Regions from separate parts of the Homo sapiens genome. Here region 1 is linked to region 2. Evidence: promoter capture Hi-C in human tissues and cell types (Jung and others, 2019). All regions are on one chromosome and are shown on one strand. The core of a region is centred on a gene start or on the middle of the fragment in contact, and the rest is flanking DNA. Distances in the headings are between cores, read along the strand shown.

Region 1 (4,454 bases), core at 1,137-3,636, 270 kb before region 2:
CCCCCCAAAAGACTGGTTCAGCAACTACAAGGTGGAACTGAATGATTCTGACACCCTTTCTTCCTTAGCAGCCTTACACTGGGCATGATCCTAGCTGCCATGCCCTGCCATGTCCACCCAGCATGGCTGCCATTCCTTCCAGTGAATGTCATGCTCTCTGGACTCCACAGGACATCTCAGACTGTTACATTCATCACTTCTTCTCTTACTGCTACCTCTCTTAGGTACCAGGGTACCACCACCAGGCATGCCACTGGGTCTTCTAGGCATGGTGAAGACTCCTGTTGGTTACCACTGCTCCCACCAGAGCAGAAACTCTATAGCTGGTTTACCTGGATTCAAATTCCAGCTCTGCCACTGGCTAGCTACGTAACTTTGGACAAGTTATACAACCACTCAGTGCTTCAGTTTCCTCACTAGCAAATGGTGAAAGATAATAATAACTAACTTCTGGGCTTTTGGTGATTATTAAGTGAAGTGATTATATATATTATGTGTATATACACATAATATATACTGCCTGATGGGTAATACTCTAAGTGTTAGTCTCTATTAGAGAAGTTCTAATAAAGCCTGTGTATCATCAAACCTTTTTTACTTAAAAGTCAAAAACATGAAGAAAATTCTGGAAAGATGGCAGTGGTGGCGCATATTTTTCCAATCTCTTCAAACCCCCACATGAAAACTGACAGAGTAACTATATGACAACCCCTACCCCATGGATGATATTTATAATGAAACTAGATCATAAGTTATCCCCACAAACTTCGAAATACCAGCAAGTGGGGACAAACCACCAACAGCTGTAAGACCTGCTCGGTATCATGTATTAGACCATTTTCATGCTGCTGATACAGACATATCTGAGCCTGGGTAATTTATAAGGAAAAAGAGGTTTAAAGGACTTACAGTTCCACATGGATAGGGAGCCCTCACAATCATAGCAGAAGGCGAAAGGCACATCTTAACTGGTGGCAGGCATTATAAAATCATCAGATCTCGTGAGACTTATTCACTACCATGAGAACAGTATGGGGGAAACCACCCCCATGATTCAATTACCTCCCACCTGGTCCCTCCCACAACACATGGGAATTATGGGAGCCATAATTCGAGATGAGATTTGGGTGGGGACACAGCCAAACCATATCATATTATCTTATGAGACGAAGAAGAAAGAAGCAATAAGGTGGCATCTGAAGAACATGAGAAAGGAGAACCCAAAATAGCCTCTGGGTATTTACTGGAAAGCATAGTATGGGAATTTGAGAACAGTGGCTGAAACTAGAAGGAGATTTGCCTTTCCAATATAGCTGAGTATAGGGTGTTTTATGAACTCTCAAAACTGACCCACCAGGAATCTCTACCACAACAAAGCACCACATTAAGGAGAAACTCCTGAGAGTGGAATCCAAATTCAGTGGGACAGGGACAACAGAGGCACAGGAACGAGATGTTCAGATCAATGTGAGGGAAGAAAGCAGAGATAGGAACACTCAGAGAGCAGGTCATCATATTTTTGGACCCTATACTAAAACAAAAGAAGGTGGAGTTCTATAAAGTTAGAATAGGTTTCCTGAACCCTGCCTTCTTCTAAAGGTTCATGAAAACTAATTTCACTTAAAAGTGAGCAACAGAAAGTTATTGTAGTCTCATCCCATATATAGTTATTTTAAAAAGAGAATAAAGAGCAGAATAATATCTCTACAATGAGAAAATGCCAGAAAAAAAATGTACTCTTAAAACAGATAAGACTATAACAAAATAAGCTTAAAATTTTAAGGAAATTATAAAAAACAGGAACAAGAAGCATAAATTATCAGAAAGGAAATGTCCCAACTCAGGAAGGAATTAGAAATAAAGAGGGGAAAGTCATTTTAGAAACAAAGGCTAAACAAGAAGAAACACATAAGATAATGCCTTTAAAATCAAATGCAAAAATTAAGAAAACTTTGAAAATAAAAAATGAAGAAAGAGATTAAAGGAGGCCAGATATGGTGGCTCACGCCTATAATCCCAGCACTCTGGGAGGCCGAGGTGAATCATGAGGTCAGGAGATCGAGACCATCCTGGCTAATATGGTGAAACCTTGTCTCTACTAAAATACAGAAAATTAGTTGAGCGTGGTGGCAGGTACCTGTAGTCCCAGCTACTCAGGAAGCTGAGGCAGGGGAATCGCTTGAACCCAGGAAGCGGAGGTTGCAGTGAGCCAAGATCGCACCACTGCACTCACTTCAGCCTGGGCGACAGAGCAAGACTCCATCTCAAAAAAATAAATACATAAGTAAAATAAAAAGAATTTGAGAGAAAACAACAAATATTAAAGTTAGGTAAGAAGATCCAACAAACACACAATGTAAGTTCCTAAGGAAGGAATTCAAAGCACAGAAACAGGGTAAATACTAAAACTATAAATCAGAAAACTTTCAGGTGGGGGAGGGGACTTAAAACTACACATTGAAAGAATATACTACATACATAAAAGCAAACATGCAAGACATACTGTAGTAAGATAGTAAGATTATTGCACAAGGGAAAAGAATGAGAAGGAAGGCAGGGAGGCAGGGAGGGAAGAAATTGTTTGTGTATCTAAAACTAAGTGGCATGTTACCCATAAGAGACAGAAAATTCCACTATCATCAGATTCTGAGAGCAATACTTTATATCAGAAAAAGTAGAGTTACATATTTAAAATACTCAAGGAAATAAAGTGTGAGCCAGTGATTTTATATTCATTCAAAATGACTTTCAAGTGTAAGGTGAGTAGAAATTCTCAGCTCTGATGACAGAGTGATGTTGGGCAAAAATCCTTCAAGAATAATTAAGAAGACAAAATCAGTAAGACTTGGACACTGATTCATATAGATGATGAATGAGAGAGAGTGAAGAGATGAGAACCAGATTTTTTACTTGAGCAGCTGAATGGATAGGAGAAATAAATTTGGAAGACACAATGATAGGTTCAGTTTGTGACACGGTGAATCTAATAGACCTAACATCTCTTCTTTTCAAGAAGTCCAGTCCCTCTTACTGGACTGCCCTCTCATAGAACTTTATTCTAAAAACTTCCAGGCACTCCCAGCATCCATACAGAGTGCATGGCCAACATACTGTCACAAGTCTCACCCTGAATATTCTCACAAGTCTCATTCATTCAACAATATTTAATTAGGGCTAAATAGGTGCCAGGAACTGTTCTAGCTACTTGGGATATATTAGTAAGCAAAACGAACGAACATTCCAGCCCCTGTGGAGAGTACATCATAGCAGGGGAAGACAGACAACAATAATAAATACAATAAATAAAAATGAATACAGTATGTTAAAAGCAGATGATTTCTATTAACAAGTAGTGGTAGAATAAGGGGTACCACAATCGTCAAGTGGAAAGCAGGTAAGTAATTTTCATTTTAAATAAGTGGTCAGAGCAGGGCTCATTGAGAAGCTAAGATTGAGCAAACACTTCAAAGAGGTGAAAGAATTAGCTGAAATATGGGTACTGACCATTGCAGGCGGTCAGAGCCTAGTGCAAAGGCCTTGAGAGGGAGATGCCTGCTTTGTTTGAGACACAGTATGGAGATAAGTGTGGCTAGAGTAGAAAGAACAACAGAAATATTAGTAGGAGGGGAGCTCATAGAAGGGATTAGGCCAGATCACATAAAGCCATGGAAGCCATTGTAAGCACTTTGGGTTTTATTCTGAGTAAACAAAATACTTCCCAGGTCCCCCAAGAACTCTTGTCACCAGATGTCAGCTGGGTCCATCTAGCCCATATACTTCTCTATAACCCAACAGGAAGACTCTCTCAGTGAGGGCTTTATAAAAACAACACATAGATGACTTTAGAATGACTTAACCTCTGCTATGCAGTGAACTATAAACTGTTTACTAAACAGCTAATTAAACCATAATTATTTATGTAACAAGCTATAAATACTTTACAGCATGGTTAGGCTATTAACTTCCCATCCCTCTGCACCAAGGCTCTTGTGAAGCCCCAGTCAAATGTGACTAAAGGAAATGTGACTACTCTAATCTTGATCAAATTTTTCGATGTCTTCATTTCTCTGCTTCTGATCTGCCTCTGAATCCCATGCTGAGCTGCATCAGCATAGGCCTTACTGTGCATGGGGGCTTTTACGTAAGTGGCGGGCAATTCTTCTTCTCTCCACCCCTAAGCACTCCAAGTTCACATTTTAAGTGTAAATCCTGCCCCAGCATTTGGTGCTAAGCAGGTTGCAACAGGCATGTTTCTAACTTGCCACTGACCCATCTGTGCAATACCAGAAACACTGAGAAGGTTTTTTTCTCCTTCAGTGGGCTCTACAAAATGCCTCCTGTGCCCACCTATAGTGGAAATGCCCCCTTTTCCTCTGAGCTTCTCTGTGTTCTCTCCTGTCTCCATGCACTAGTCCTCTGCTCCAAGCTGTAGCAGCAGAAAAAGTTTTCAGATC
Region 2 (4,478 bases), core at 671-3,170:
GGCTGCAGATACTGTGACACATACCTGTGGGGGTAACTTCAGCCCCTGGGGATAGTCACAAGCCAGTTAAACAGAAAAACTCAAAGACCTGACTAACTTGCTGACTTCCGCAGTGTCCTTGCGTGGGAGATGGAGAGAAATTGGAAACACTCTCAGAGGACAAGGTTTGCTTAGTATATGAAGCCTTTGCCCTTGATATTTCCTCTGTTTGGAATATTTTCCCCCATATCTGCCTCAAATTTCTCTTCTATAGTAGGCAGAATAATGCTCCCCTCCCCCAATAGGTCCACATACTAATCCCTAGAACTGTGAATATGTTAGGTTTCATGGCAAGAAGAATTAAGGTTGCAGATGGAATTAAAGGGCTAATCAGCTGATCTTTGAGTTGGGATTATCCAGGTGGGCCCAATATAATCACAACGATCCTTATAAGTGGAAGAAGGAAGTAGAAGAGAGATAATCAGAGAGACAGCGATGTTGGAAGGATTCAAACTGACATTAATGGCCTTGAAGAGGAAGGAATGGGGACGAAAGCCAAGGAATGTGGGCAGCCTCTAGAAGCTGAAAAAGACAAGGAAATAGAATCTCTCCTACAGTCTCTAGAAAGAATGAAGCCCCACTAACACCTCTCTGTCAGCCCTGGAAGACTCATTTTGGACTTCTCACCTCAAGAATTGTAAGAAAATAAATTTGTGTGGTTTTAAGCCATCAGATTGGTGGTAATTTATTACAACAGTAGTAGGAAACAAATACACTTCTTTAGCAGTTGATCTCAGCTCCAATGTCATCTTCCTAATAAGACTTTCCTTGACAGCCCTTGCCTGCTAAAGTATCTCCCCAACCACCAGGCGTTTTCTATAACGCACTTTTTGTTTGCTTCTGATTATTGAAAATTATTGTATTTCCATGTCATTGCTCTTCCCTCTCATAAGAATGTAAGTTATAGAAAGGACTTTGTTGCTCTTATTCACCTATGTATCTCCATTGCTTAGGACATGGGAACATAGTAGACATTCAATAAATATTTGTTGTGTGAATGAGTCGTAAGCTAATGAGGACCATAAAACTCATGCCACTGCTAAATCACAATTAGAGGGCAGCTGTTAGAAGAGTCCCAAACCCAGTAAGTCCTGTATTGCAAGGAACTGCCCAATAGAAAACAGGAATAAAAACAATTAGCAAGAATAATATGAAATCAGTTGCTTAATTCCAGGCAGTGGAGGCAGAAATCTTGAATAGTAAATACTCTCCGTGAACAAGTGCAGACAAGAGTCCCGTGATTGCCAATAAGTAATCAGTTTGGAAAGACCAGAGAGGGGTCAAATATAGGTAAACTGAGTTAATCACATAAACTGCTCAATCATCACAATTATTAAAAGATCACACACAAAAATACATTAACAGGAGAAAAATAGTAAAACAGGACAAAACAGTAAAATTACTTTCTTTTACTACTGATGGGTCAATTTTCTACTGGAAATTCTGAAAAGTATCAGGTTCAGCTAAAGACTGCAGTGTTGATCATCTCTCCAGTTTTCCTAGTGTGAAATGAAATAAGCAGACCTGGTACTTAAAAAGACACTTTAAGAAAGGTCTGGCCCCAGAGAGGCAGGATCCGCCTAGCCCAGTGAGTGAGGCCGTCCTGACACCTCGTCAATGCCCTTGTGTCAACATTCTAGAAAACGGACTCCTGGCTCATTGCTCCGCCTAGAGCCGCGCCACCTCCAAAGGGTAGCACCGGCCACCCGCTCCGCAAAGTCCACTCTCAGCCGCGCAAAACTAGAAGGTAGTTGTCCCGAAGGGGCCTGAGCGCTCACTCAGTCAGCCAATGGCCACGGAGCTAGGGCGGGACCTGAGGGTATCCTGCCAATGGGAGTATGGCAGGGCTGGAGGGAGTGCCTGGGTCTCAGGGCTGCTGTGGAGTTCGCACCTCCAGCTCGGGCCGATGTGGAAGCTTTGGAGAGCTGAAGAGGGCGCGGCGGCGCTCGGCGGCGCGCTCTTCCTGCTGCTCTTCGCGCTAGGGGTCCGCCAGCTGCTGAAGCAGAGGCGGCCGATGGGCTTCCCCCCGGGGCCGCCGGGGCTGCCATTTATCGGCAACATCTATTCCCTGGCAGCCTCATCCGAGCTTCCCCATGTCTACATGAGAAAGCAGAGCCAGGTGTACGGAGAGGTACAGCCCCGACGGGCCCCGGGCAGGGAGGGCCGCCAGGCTGGCCCGGGCTGGCCAGGGCCTTCCTGGTTGGACTTATGGCCGCCCCTGGGCCGACTAGTCGGGACCTCTCCGTGTGCCGGCTGCCCTTTGAGGGACACCCGCTTCCCGGGTCTGGAAGGGAGAAGTCCTCGACGCCGTGCCCCCTTGCAGGGGGAGCCCCGCCCCTGCCGGTGACCCACTCCGGGCCGAGGCTCCGAGGCGATCCAGTCCTGATTTTCCCGCTACCGCTCGAGCTCTTGCTCCTGCGCCTGCGCCGTTTGGCTCGCCAGCCGCGCCGCCACTTCAGGTCCAGGGTGGACGCATGCCCTCAGGTGCGGGCGTCTTGCGAGTCGGCCTCGCAGCTCTGTGGAAGCTGCACGCGGCTTGTCGGAAAATCAAGGCGTTCTGAGTTCTAGATGGTTAATAGCAGGTTCTTCGGTGTCTGCAGTCGACGAACGACTGGTGTAGGCGTTTGCTGTGAGAATGGAGAATGCAGGGGAACGCCCCTGACTGAGAAGCGGGCCCTGGGAAACGATTGTGAACGCGTGAATGAATTGATGACTAAAATCCGCTGCGGGGGTCCTACAGCGCAGATGGTAATGCCGTTCTGACTGGCTGGGAACGGCACCTTAGCAGATACTTAAAAGGCGCCTTCTGTGTGCCACTGTCACTGCCAACTTGGTGACTCATTTAAAACTCATAACCAGCCGGTGAGGTCGGTACTTCGCTCCTCCTCATTCTGCGGAGGGGAAAGCAGCACGGAAATGCCCTGTGACTGGCAGCGGAAAAGGCGACCACCGCTTGTGTGTGGGTGTCCCGACGTCCGGAGGGGGCAGGAGTTTCCACGGGTCCTGGGACAGAGCTCACCTGTTTTGTTTTGAATTACACTTATTTATATGCAACTACAGGCCTGACGCTAGCGGTGAAGAAGGCAGATACAGCCTTTTAAGGAGTTGGCAGATGAGTGGGAGAGAGAAAACTAATCTCATTATCGGCCACAGGCTGTGGTCAGTGTTTTGAAGGAAAAGTACAGGGATGTTTGGCAACTGTGGTATTTCAGGTTTGACCTTAAATCCTTACTTAAACCAATTTTTACAAGGATTGGTCTAGGTGCCCGGGCGCGGTGGCTCACGCCTATAATCCCAGCACTTTAGGAGGCCGAGGCGGGCGGATCACGAAATCAGGAGATCGAGACCGTCGTGGCTAACACGGTGAAACCCCATCTCTACTAAAAGAATACAAAAAATTAGCCGGGCGTGGTGGCGGGCACCTGTAGTCCCAGCTATTCGGGAGGCTGAGGCAGGAGAATGGCGTGAACCCGGGAGGCGGAGCTTTCAGTGAGCCGAGATCGCGCCACTGCACTCCAGCCTGGGCAACAGAGCCAGACTCCGTCTCAAAAAAAAAAAAAAAAAAAAAAAAAAAGAATTGGTCTAGGTTTCTAGAATAGAAAGTCACTAATGGTTTACGTTCCTTTCATGGTTCACGAATAGTTTACGTTGTTAAAGGGAAGCTGGACGAGATAATAAAGGTATGTATAATTCTTAGATCTTATTTTCCAACCTGCAATTCTCCCAGAATTGAGTTTATTCCCATGATTTTCATGTAATATATTTCATCTCTTTGGTATCTTGGTACACAGCATCATAATATTCTAGAGAAATAAAATGTGAAAGCATAAGACTAGAGGTCAGGTCTTCTGCCAGACAAAACTTGACCTCTATTCTGAGTCTTTTTTTTTTCTCGGTAGTGAGAATAACAACAGAAAACAGAAAAGTGCTACTCAAGTGTTCTTGGTTATTGTGTATGTTATTAGTTTCTTTCTTTTTTTATTTGAGACGAGTCTTGCTCTGTCACCCAGGCTGGAGTGCAGTGACGCCATCTCGGCTCACTGAAAGCTCCGCCTCCCGAGTTCACGCCATTCTCCTGCCTCAGCCTCCCGAGTAGCTGGGACCACAGGTGCTCGCCACCACGCCCGGCTAATTTTTTGTAATTTTTAGTAGAGATGGGCATTCACTCGGTTAGGCAGGATGGTCTCGATCTCCTGACCTCGTGATCTGCCCGCCTCGGCCTCCCAAAGTGCTGGGATTACAGGTGTGAGCCACTGCGCCCGGCCTATGTTATTAGTTTCTATACACAGAACACATTTGTTCGACCTCCAAATTTGAAAGTATTTTTAAACAAGTTATTTGAAATGGTTTCTCACAGAAAAAGGAATTAAGCTTTTCTTATATAAATATTTGAACTGAAAGACACTCGGTATTACTATGAATATTTCTTTTGGGCAGGG

What was found. Contacts are between HindIII fragments. The study calls those that stand out against the background at their distance.
Region 1: a contact is called between a fragment that was not itself captured here and the fragment with the promoter of CYP2R1 in region 2, in 1 of the 25 tissues and cell types used here (H1 embryonic stem cells).

What each region holds. Positions count from the first base shown.
Region 1 is chr11:15,161,420-15,165,873 of GRCh38, reverse strand. The region is part of intron 2 of INSC (INSC spindle orientation adaptor protein); the gene reads right to left. Among named protein-coding and RNA genes, the nearest start is that of INSC, 49 kb to the right of the region's middle. The HindIII fragment of the contact is 3,139 bases long and covers 817-3,955 here.
Region 2 is chr11:14,889,673-14,894,150 of GRCh38, reverse strand. CYP2R1 (cytochrome P450 family 2 subfamily R member 1) reads left to right here and starts at 1,920. Exons shown (of 5, transcript NM_024514.5): 1 at 1,920-2,170. The coding sequence starts at 1,946. It also overlaps a transcript of PDE3B not described here. RefSeq lists a silencer at 2,173-2,412. The HindIII fragment of the contact is 8,315 bases long and covers 1-3,182 here.